Linked DNA regions of Homo sapiens: region 1 is linked to region 2. The links are contacts of gene promoters, found by promoter capture Hi-C in blood cells and fetal thymus (Javierre and others, 2016). All regions are on one chromosome and are shown on one strand. The core of a region is centred on a gene start or on the middle of the fragment in contact, and the rest is flanking DNA. Distances in the headings are between cores, read along the strand shown.

Region 1 (5,539 bases), core at 1,386-3,885, 2.2 Mb after region 2:
GTTAGGATTTGAAGCCTTGAAATGCAGACATAATTTCATCCTCTCCAGGATGACCAGAGGTCAAGCTGCACTTCCCAAGGCTACTATGAGCCAGGTCTTCTTGCTTCCCAAACTCAACCCCTGCACCTGTCTTAAGCCTGCTGTGGCTAAAGTTAATTTCTAGAATACTAGGAACACTTCTGGGAGCAAAGCCAGGTGCTTAACCAGAAATGTTTTTCTCTGGGTTGACTATGTTTACAGAAAATTAAAAGTGCATAGATGTATTAGTCCCTTTTCATGCTGCTGAAAAGGACATGCCTGATACTGGGTAATTTACAAAGAAAAAGAGGTTTAATGAACTCACAGTTCCACGTGGCTGGGGAGGCCTCACAATCATGGCAGAAGGTGAGGGAAGAACAAAAGCCTGACTTTCATGGTGGCAGAAGAGAGTTTGTGCAGGGAAACTCCCCATTGTAAAACCATCAGATCTCTTGAGACTTATTCACTATCACAAGAACAGCACAGGAAAGACTCGCCCCCATGATTCAATTACCTCCCACCAGGTCTCTCCCATGACACATGGGAATTGTGGGAGCTACAGTTCAAGATGAGAGTTGGGTGGGGACATGGCCAAACCAAATCAGGAGAATTCCAGCATCCCTATAGATTAAAGTAAACCCAAACTTCGTCTCTATCCAAGTGCCATTTTTAAAGCTTTTTCCATAATGTTGTTTTGTTTTTTTTACATTTGATTCTACTGCTAGTCTGTGGAAGTCTTCGTCACTTGACAACTGGGAGTTCAGAAAAAGGTGGAAAATTACTATCTGATAGTTGTTTCTTGCCTTTTTGAAAGAACCTAATATAAAAGCAGTTAGTCTCACGTGGAATCATACAGCAGAAAACAAAGTGTCTGCCATCCTTATTTCTGCCGAGCGTTGGAGCACTGGTGCAGGTCAATGGAGCATGCTATGAAGCAGAAGGAAGGCCAATTGGCTCACTGCCAAGAAGCCTCTTTTGCAGGGTTGCAGGGTTGCATTAATTGTATGAGCAGGGGCGGGTGGTCCTTGGAACTCAGGGCCTTCACTCTATCAGAACATGAGACTGGATGACAGTGTTGAGGCAAGACTTGCCCTATGCAAACAGCCTGGAGACTCATACAGAAATCCAGACCTCCAATTCACTTACTTAAATTGGGAGGTACAGATTCATGATCTGAAGACCAAATCCAGTCTGCAAGAGTCTTTTTGGTTTGCTTGCCTTTTATTTTATTTGTGGGGCCAAATGATATTTTTTACAATTTGAGCAATTTTTAAAAATCAATTAAAAGTATATTTCTTGACAATCATAGAAAATTGGAAGATCTGAACCCTGTGCTTTCCTGAATGGCAGCAATTGCTGGCTGGAGCTAAGCAGTGCTGCCCCTTTATGTGAAGTTTGTACTCCCTAGTTTTGCACATCTCTCTCACCATTTCTGATTATTCCCCAAACATGGGGCCATTTGTTATGGTACTTGCATTGTTTTCTTGTAATAGAGACATATCTCTCCTATAGTTATGACTCTATCAAAATTTGGAAAACTGAATAGAAGGCTAGAGGGAAGATTGTTTCAAGAAAATTGAAAGAGGACATGTTTCCTTTTGAAGGCAAAGAATAAACATTCTGGCCAGGTGCAGTGGCTCATGCTTATAAACTCAGCACTTTGGGAGGCCGGGGCAAGCAGATTGCTTGAGTCCAGGCATTTGAGACCAGCCTGGGAAACCTGGCAAAACCCCATCTATACAAAAAATACAAAAAATAGCTGGGCATGGTGGCATGCACCTGTAGTCCTCGGTACTCAAGAGGCTGAGTGGGGAGGATCGCTTGAGCCCAGGAGGTAGAGGCCTCAGTGAGCCGTGATCACACCACTGCACTCTGGCCTGGGTGACAGAATGAGACACTGTCTCAAAAAATATAAATAAATAAATAACAAAATTCTGATATAATCACATATGTGATGTATGTAAATATAATATGTACCTACCGTCATTCTCCTTCGGTTACAAGCTTCCACATTTGCCAAAGAATCATAATAATTTTTGCCTTGAAAGAATTTCAGAACTCACTGGTTTTAAAGGATGTTTTGTGACAAAATCTAAGTTCACTCTAAGTGGATTTTATTGTAGAAAATACAAAACGAAACACTCCCTTAAAAAAAAAGAGAGAATGAAGAAAAGAAAGGAGAGAGAGGAGTAGGAAGGAAGGGATCCCCAATATCCCCAAACAAATTTTTCAGTTGGTTAACTTTCTGGAAAGAAAGTAAAAGGCAGTAAAAGGTTTTGCAATCTTACTGAAATTTCTACTGCAATGTAACACTGATCGGACTTGGGGGCATTGGGGTTGGTGACTAAGAGGAACAGCCACAATTTTTTAACCTTTCAGGAAGCCTAAAGGACAGAATTTAAAGCATAGCCATGTAAGGCTGACAGACTCACTCTTCAGAAGAGAAGTTAATCCTCTTGGGGGCTTCCCTTTAAAAATAATTTTAAAGGCCCTGACTCAGAGAATCAGGAATGTAAAATTTGAGTTTCAATTGACTGAAGCCCAGTGGAAAGGGGACAAGATGTGGACTCTGTCAAACTTAAGTCTGAATTCCAATCCTTCCACTCACACTTAATGTGACCTTGAGCAGGTTTCTTCATCTCTCTGTGTTCCAAGTCTCCATTTATGAAACTGGGATGACTTCTGCTTTACAGAGTTGATATGAGGCTTGCATGAGAAGATATGGCAAACTGGTTAATTGCAGGCCCTCTCAAATGTTGGTTCAGATTCTCTTTTTTATTTCCTTTGTTTATAATTATGATAGCCACCATAGCATAGACTGGAATGTCTATTACATTTATGAGCCATCTAATGACGTTTCAGTCAAGGAAGGACCACATACATGACAGTGATCCCGTACAATTGTGTTATAATTGTCTAACATGCTATACAATTTTGTAGTCTAGGAATTAGTCCATAGCCTAGGTGTGTGGTAGGCTACAGCATCTAGATTTGTTTAAGTACCTTCTATGCTATTTGCACAAGAAATTGCCTAACAATGTATTTCTTAATACATATCCCCATCATTAAGTGATACCTGACTGTATTTGCCAGACTGGCGCCCCTTACCCTAACTTCCAGATTTACCTGCTTTTAAAGTTGCTCCAGTCCTTTTCTAAGCATTTTAAGACATTGGAGCAGGTGTTATTCTTTTTTTGTAAATGGTCAAGTTACAAATATTTTAAGCTTTGCAGGCCTTATGGTCTCTGTCAGGATTACTCAACCCTGCCTGCCATTGTAGCATGAATGGTAGCCATAGACAACATGTAAACGAATGTGTGTGGTTGTGTTCCAATGAAACTTTATGAAATCAAGTAGCTAGTCCATGGAAAATAGTTTGCCAGTCTTTGCACTTTACTATGAAACTTCAGCATCCTGTACACATTGAAACTGTAATGCCTTAGGATAAAAATTTCAGTTTGTTTTAGGAAAGAGAGGGAGGCAAGGGAAAAGGGAGAAAAGAAATAGCTGAAGAATTCAATGTGAATTTATATTCATTACACTATTATTTTAACTAAATATAGAGAAAATAATCTTTCCACTTGTCTTAAGCTATTTACTTTAGGCTGTTTACCACTTATTAGCTCAGTGATCTCAGACATAGTAAGACTAGTTAATATTTATTGATCACTTACTCTAGGTAAGTCCTGTGTCAAGTGCCTTACATGCACGATTTTATTTAATCTTTAAAATAATCCTATGAGATAAAAATAATTTGGAAACACTATTTTAAAGCCAAGTAAATGGAAGCTTAGAAAAGTTACTTTTCCTAGTATTACAGAGTCAGTAAATTAAGTAACTGGAATTTATATCTAGGTAGTTTGACTTCACAGTTGTTCAACCTGAGTTTTATTATACATAAAAATAAATTATCATTCTATATCTTACTGGTTTCTTGGAAAGACTACAACAGAGAAAGTATCTGAAAATACCTGAGTAACAATCATGGGGCACTAAATCAGTTCCTTTCTGTTTTTCTAGTCTACTAAGCATTCACAATTATCCAGCAATATTTTTTTTTAAGAGACAGGGTCTCACTCTGTCACCCAGACTGGAGTGCAGTGGTGTGATCATGGCTAACTGCAGCCTGGACATCTTGGGCTCAAGTGATCCTTTCTACTCAGCCTCCCAAGTAGCTGTGACTACAGGTTTGTGCCACCACACCCAGCTAATGTTTATTTATTTTATTTTATTTTTGTAGAGACAGGGTTTTGCTATGTTGCCCAGGCTGGTCTTGAACTTCTGACCTCAAGTAATCATCCCGCCTTGGCCTCCCAAAATGCTGGGATTACAGACATGAGACAACATGCCCAACCATTTATTAAATATTTGTTGAGTACCCTCTATCTTCTTGGGTTTGACTGATCTAGAACCACTGATTCCTTGGTAGAGGAAATTTCAGTGTTGGCTTGGCAAAAGAAATTGTTTCTTTAGCCAAGGATATATGATCCTGAAGAGTCTTTGGCCTTGAGTTTCCATGATGTATCTTCTTAATCTTTCTTAAAATGCTATCTTATCTGCATCAGAATCCTGTTGATAAAATTTACATTTTCAGACACTAAGATCGCAATCATCAGAATGTTTTGAGGTGGGGCTCAGGTTTCTGCATTATTATCCCCAACTCTATTTTGAAAAAAAAAATTTAACCTACAAAAAGTTGAATCATACAGCATAAACCCATTTATTCATTACTAGATTCTCTTACTGCTAATTTTTCCACATTTGGATCTCTTTCTCTTGCTGTTACATCCTCTTTGTTTCTGTCTCTATATTTAAAAGTTAGTTTATAGTTTACCATATTTCCTAGAGAGTTATTTTCTTTCTCCATTTGAAAGTCAGTTATTGACATCATGTCACCCCTAAACACATCAGCACATATACTTTAAGAGCAAAGACATTTCACAACCACAATACTATTATCACACTTAAGAAATTTAATTCACTTTGATGCAATTATATTTTCAAATATAATCTATATTTAAATTTCTTCATCACACACAAAAGTCCTTGTAGTTCCTCTTTGATGATTTAATCCAAGATTTTGCCTTTTATTTGGTATTCATGTTGCTTTAGTTTTCTTTCATTTGAAGCAATTCCACCCTGCTTCTTGTCTTCCATAACTTGACATTTTTGAAGAACCCAAGCCACTTGCTTTTTTGAATATCCCATAGTCTGAATCTGCCTGTTTGCCTGTATTTAGATGGTAGATTAGATCAAGCATCTATGTGGTACTTTGTGCACTTTTACTGGGATATATAAGAACAAAACAAACTGCAAAGAAATTTTGAACTTGTTCGGTAGTTTTGTTGTTGGTATTGCTATTGAAACAATAATTCTGAAACAATTTCCTTTTATACTGTAGAACGCAGAAAACTGAATTAATCTATTGGTATTTTTGAAAACCAAATTTCTCACTTATTGGGAGATACAAATGTGAATAAGGAAAGGTAAGGAAGTACCTTATGATGTTAGGTTTGAATTG
Region 2 (5,258 bases), core at 111-2,610:
CAACGTTTCACATTTGTCGTAATTTTGAGATTTCCAAGGAAAGAGCCTGCTTCCTACTCAGGTCTGATGTTAACCTGATGCTGCACACAGCTCTGCTTTGCTTCGAGTCTATCAAACACTGCTCCAGTTAATTCTTACCAAAAAATCCCCCCATTCCCATAACCCAATAATGACACTTCCGTTTGATGAGAGGCATTGAGGTTCCTCTGGAGTGCAGTCTCCCTTGCTGCAGCAAGTTAATAAATCTAACTTTGTTGACTACAGGTTTGTTCCTGGTGCTCTTTATTGGAAGACTTTAGCAATCTTAAACTGCTGGCCCCAAATCCCAAAACAACGGGAAACTCTACTCAGTATCTTTTCTTTTTTTCTTTTTTTTGAGATGGAGTCTGGCTCTTGTCCCCCAGGCTGGAGTGCAATGGTGCAATCTCGGCTCGCTGTAACCTCCACCTCCCGGGTTCAAGCGATTCTCCTGCCTCAGCCTCCCAAGTAGCTGGGACTACAGGCGCCCTCCACCATGCCCGGCTAATTTTTGTATTTTTAGTAGAGACGGGGTTTCATCATGTTGGCCAGGCTGGTCTCGAACTCCTGACCTCGTGATCCGCCCGCCTCGGCCTCCCAAAGTGCTGGGATTACAGGCGTGAGCCACCGCGCCTGGCCAGTATCTTTTCTTAAAGATTCCTTCTTATACAAGTTGAATTAGACAAGATGGATCATTTTGGCTTTTAGTTCCTCCAACATTCCAACCTAGTTAGAGCGGCTTTTCTCTGTGCATGGAAAATTCTTCCCCCAGATCTCTTGCCTGGCTGGCCCAGTTCATACCTAAGGTAGCCATCTGTCCTCACACTGCCGCACCCCCACCCCGTCACTCCACCTCATCATCTCATTTCATTTTCCTATTTTTCTAATCACTCTCTGAGATTATCTTACTTCATTATCTATTTGTTTATAAATTATCCCAATGAGGATGTTAAGATCAGGAGAGAGGGTACCACGACAGCGCTGACAGCCGCAGCTGCCCAGTGTCTAGAACTGTGCCCAACAAACACTTGTGGAATGAGTAAGCAGACGAGGAACTAGACACTTCGTTTGCCTTCGTCCCCTTTAAATACCCTCCAGGTGGACCCAGCCGCATTAAAACTCTGAGAACTAGGTGAATGGCATTTGGCCTCGCCACTGGCCGGAGCGTTTGCCGTTGATCCAGGCAACCACTGTTTTCCCACCAGTCGTGTAGTCGCTCTACCTGGCTCCGCCCCCCAGGACGCCGAGCCTCGGCCGGGCGGTAAAATCGGCGCTTACCCTTTAAGCGGCGGGACTTCTGGTCACGTCGTCCGCGGTCGCCGGAAGGGGAAGTTTCGCCTCAGAAGGCTGCCTCGCTGGTCCGAATTCGGTGGCGCCACGTCCGCCCGTCTCCGCCTTCTGCATCGCGGCTTCGGCGGCTTCCACCTAGACACCTAACAGTCGCGGAGCCGGCCGCGTCGTGAGGGGGTCGGCACGGGGAGTCGGGCGGTCTTGTGCATCTTGGCTACCTGTGGGTCGAAGATGTCGGACATCGGAGACTGGTTCAGGAGCATCCCGGCGATCACGCGCTATTGGTTCGCCGCCACCGTCGCCGTGCCCTTGGTCGGCAAACTCGGCCTCATCAGCCCGGCCTACCTCTTCCTCTGGCCCGAAGCCTTCCTTTATCGCTTTCAGGTACTTACCGGAGACGGGGGGCGTGGAGACTACAGGCCCCAGGAGGCCCAGCGGCGGCTAAGCGTAGGCTGGCATGTTGCGGGCGCGCGGTGCCTGCTGGGATTTGTAGTGGGTCCGGCGCCGGCGGTTTAGGGCGGGGTCCTTTGGGCCCGGGGAGGCTCTGGGATCTGGAGCGGGGTGCTGGATAGCTGGAGTTGTGGGCTGGCCTGGTGGGGAGGGGTTGACTTCACTGGTATAGTGAGATTGTGCTTCCCGCTCTTCGCACTCAGTGAAGGAAGCAGTGAGATTAGTCGTTGGTAGTTGTCAATCTGTTGGACGCTGGCGATTAGGTCCGCCTGGAGCATTGCCCTCTGACCTCCCTCTGTCACCCACGTGGGTGGCCTGTAGGTGTCAACTTCACCAACTTATAGCTGAGTTCCTTTCACGTTTATGGAGTTTTTTTGTTTTGGTTTTCCTATAGGAGTGATTTAAAGTCAGAGATACAAAGAACGAGTGTATTGTTCTGCATTTCCCTCTAGACCTAATTTAGTGTCCCCCACGTAGTAATAGAATGTACGAAGGAATGGGCAAAGAGTACATTTGTCCAGAAATGGAAGGCCTTGTTATTTTCTTAAGCATGAAGGAAACAGTCCAGAGTAACATTTCTGTCAAGAGAGTGCCAGTTTTCTGAAGGTTATCTGTATTCACCAATTTCTGATTTAAAACTTCAATCAGTGGCAGGTCAGATAGCAAGATCTGGCATTAATTTCAGCCCTTTACTTGGCCTATGGATAACATTTTCTTGTCTTTCCCTGTCTTCACTGGGTGTTACTTCTTGGTTTCCTTTGCTGGTTCCTTATCTTCCTGACTTTTAAATGTTAGGATGTGCCTTGGGAATCAGTTATAGGACCTTTTCTATAGACTCTCCCTAGCTTTAGGTGGTCTCATTCATTCAGCCTCAGGGCTTTACATACTTTCTATAAACTGGAGATTCTGAAATATAAATATAAATATCTTCAGTCCAGATCTGTCTCCCTATTTCCAGATTTGTGCATCCAGCAGTTACTTGAAATCACGACTTGGATGACTAAGAGTCATCTTCATCTTAACGTGTCCAAAACTGAATCCCCTTTCCCCCTTTGCCTTAGAAGTGAATAGCAACTCCGTTATTAGAGGAGCTGAAGTTAATTGTCGGAGTCATCTTTTATTTTTCTTGTTTTTCTCACACCCCACAATCTGTCAGCAAATCCTATTGACTCTACTTGAGACATATATCCAGAATACAATCCCTTTTCATTCTCCATTGCAAGCCATTATCACTGCAATCTGGTTCCTTTCCATCTTTTCTCTAGACAGCTAGAGTGATCCTTTTAAAACCTACATCAAGTCCTGTCTTTCCTCTGTCCAGAATCCTACCATGTCTTCTTAATGAGTAAAATCCAAGTCCTTTCAGTGGCCTGCAAGGCCCCTGCTGCTTCTCTGACCTCATCTCCTACTACTCTCCAACTTGTACCTTAGGCTCCACAATGAGATCCTTGCTGTTACTTCAGTGCTTATCTGGATCTCTCCTCAGGGCCTTTGCACATGTTGTTTCTCTGCCTGAGGAAGATAACCGTGGCTCAGTTGTTTACCTCCTAACCTTCTTCAGATCTCTGCCCAAATGCCGTCTTGTTGACAAGGCCTTCTCTGATGGCCGTACATAAAATAGCCCGTCCTTCACTCCACTCCCTTATCCCTTATCCTTCATTTTTCTTTCTTTCTTTCTTTTTTTTGGAGACGGAGTCTCGCTCTGTTGCCCAGGCTGGAGTGTATATGGCGCAATCTTGGTTCACTGCAACCTCTGTCTCCTGGGTTCAAGCAGTTCTCCTGTCTCAGCCTCCCAAGTAGCTGGAATTACAGGTGCACACCACCATGCCCAGCTAATTTTTGTATTTTAGTAGAGACGGGGTTTCGCCATGTTGGCCAGACTGGTCTTGAACTCCTGACCTCAGGTGATCCACCCGCCTCAGCCTCCCAAAGTGCTGGGATTAGAGGCGTGAGCCACTGAGCCTGGCCTTATCCTTCATTTTTCTTGCTACATATTACCCTTTGGTATTTATTAGTCTGCTTCCCCTCAGAGAATAAGGCTCCATGAGAGCCGTTCACCACTGTCCTTGTTACCTGGAATAGTGCCTGGGACGTAGTAGGTGCTTATATATTAACTGAGTTGTTGGAAGTAATTGGGCACTTGCTGTGTGCTGGGCACTGGGGTACAATAGTAAATAGGACTGAAAAGGTTTCAGAGCCTGTGAAGACATAGAGGCACGTGTTTTAAGGGGTGTAATATTTGATAGGGTGTTCCACCCAGAAAGGCCTCAGAGAAGACATTTGAAGAAATTGGAATACTGAGGAGCCAGCCAGCCAGCTTTGGGTAGATCTGGCTCTGGAGACAACCTTCCAGGAAGGACTAGTAAGTGAAAGGCTCAGAAGTAGGAGCTGGGAACAGGAAGAAGACTGGGTTGCCAGCTGGCACAGGGTCAGCTGTAGGGTGAGGATTAGTAGATGACAGCAGGGAGATAGCCAGGGCTGGGTGTAGTAAAGCTAAGATGGAAAGGTGGGTTAAAGCTAGATCATAGTTGAGCCTTGTAGGTCATGTTAAGAGGTTTGAACTTTATTTTGAGGGCACTATGAAGTCTTTGGAGCCTTGTGAACAAAGGACTGACAGATTGCCCCGACTATTCTGTGGAGTGGACTTTGTGTGTGTATGGAGGGGGTTGAAGGAGGAAGGGCTAGGTGATGAGATCAGAGAGATGAATCCAGTTAGGAGGCCAGAGAGATGGTGGTTTGGATCAGTGTGGCTGTGAAGATAGAGAAAAGGGCATAGACTTGGCAGAGGGGACGAGATTACAGCCGAATGGATATAAAGAGTGAATGGGTGAAGCGAGCAGGACTGAAAGATACTACTGTTTTCACAGGAGCAGCTGAGTGGATGGCGGAGCCCTTGACTGAGATGGGGAATGGTCAGGGATACCTGGGTTGGGAGTGGGGGCTGGTATGGATGAAGAGTTAGGTTTTGGCTGTGCTAAGTCTTGAGATGCTTTTCAGGCATCCATGTGGCGAGGCCAAGGGAGCAGTTGGATATAAAAACATGACTCTGGAGTGCAGCTGGAATTGCATACTGTTCTGTGTTTATTACTTTACTAAATATTTGTTGGCTGAGAGAATGTTGTGTACTTTGTCCCTGGTGGCTTGTTGGGTAATGTGTGGTCATGGGGAGCAATGGTGGCATATTAATGTGTGAGAAGGACCTGGTCAAAACCGGCTTGTTGTCCCTGTTAGCAAAATCCTCACTTGTGTAGTGACACTAGTGACTACACGATGTAAATAAGCACATTGTAAAGAAGCAATGTAAATAAGCCTAACAGGCTGCGGGTGTATAAGGTTAAAAGTGGTGAACTGATTAAAAAGAGTAATCGTTCTTGTCACATCTTCCACAATTTTGTCATCTTCCCTGTATTATTTCTTCTCAGCTGCCAGCAGGAGGCAGGACAGTGTACTGCCCAGGTGTGAAAAGACCAACAGCTGTACCTTGTCTTTTCTTCCTGTTA

Evidence for each region. Contacts are between HindIII fragments. The CHiCAGO score rates a contact against its expected background, and 5 or more counts as called.
Region 1: a contact is called between a fragment that was not itself captured here and the fragment with the promoter of DERL1 in region 2, in 1 of 17 cell types (M0 macrophages). The highest score is 5.1, in M0 macrophages.

The regions. Positions count from the first base shown.
Region 1 is chr8:120,821,472-120,827,010 of GRCh38, reverse strand. No RefSeq gene overlaps it. Among named protein-coding and RNA genes, the nearest start is that of SNTB1, 12 kb to the right of the region's middle. The HindIII fragment of the contact is 1,221 bases long and covers 2,025-3,245 here.
Region 2 is chr8:123,038,404-123,043,661 of GRCh38, reverse strand. DERL1 (derlin 1) reads left to right here and starts at 1,360. Exons shown (of 8, transcript NM_024295.6): 1 at 1,360-1,692. The coding sequence starts at 1,540. RefSeq lists an enhancer at 1,411-1,950. The HindIII fragment of the contact is 6,787 bases long and covers 1-5,258 here.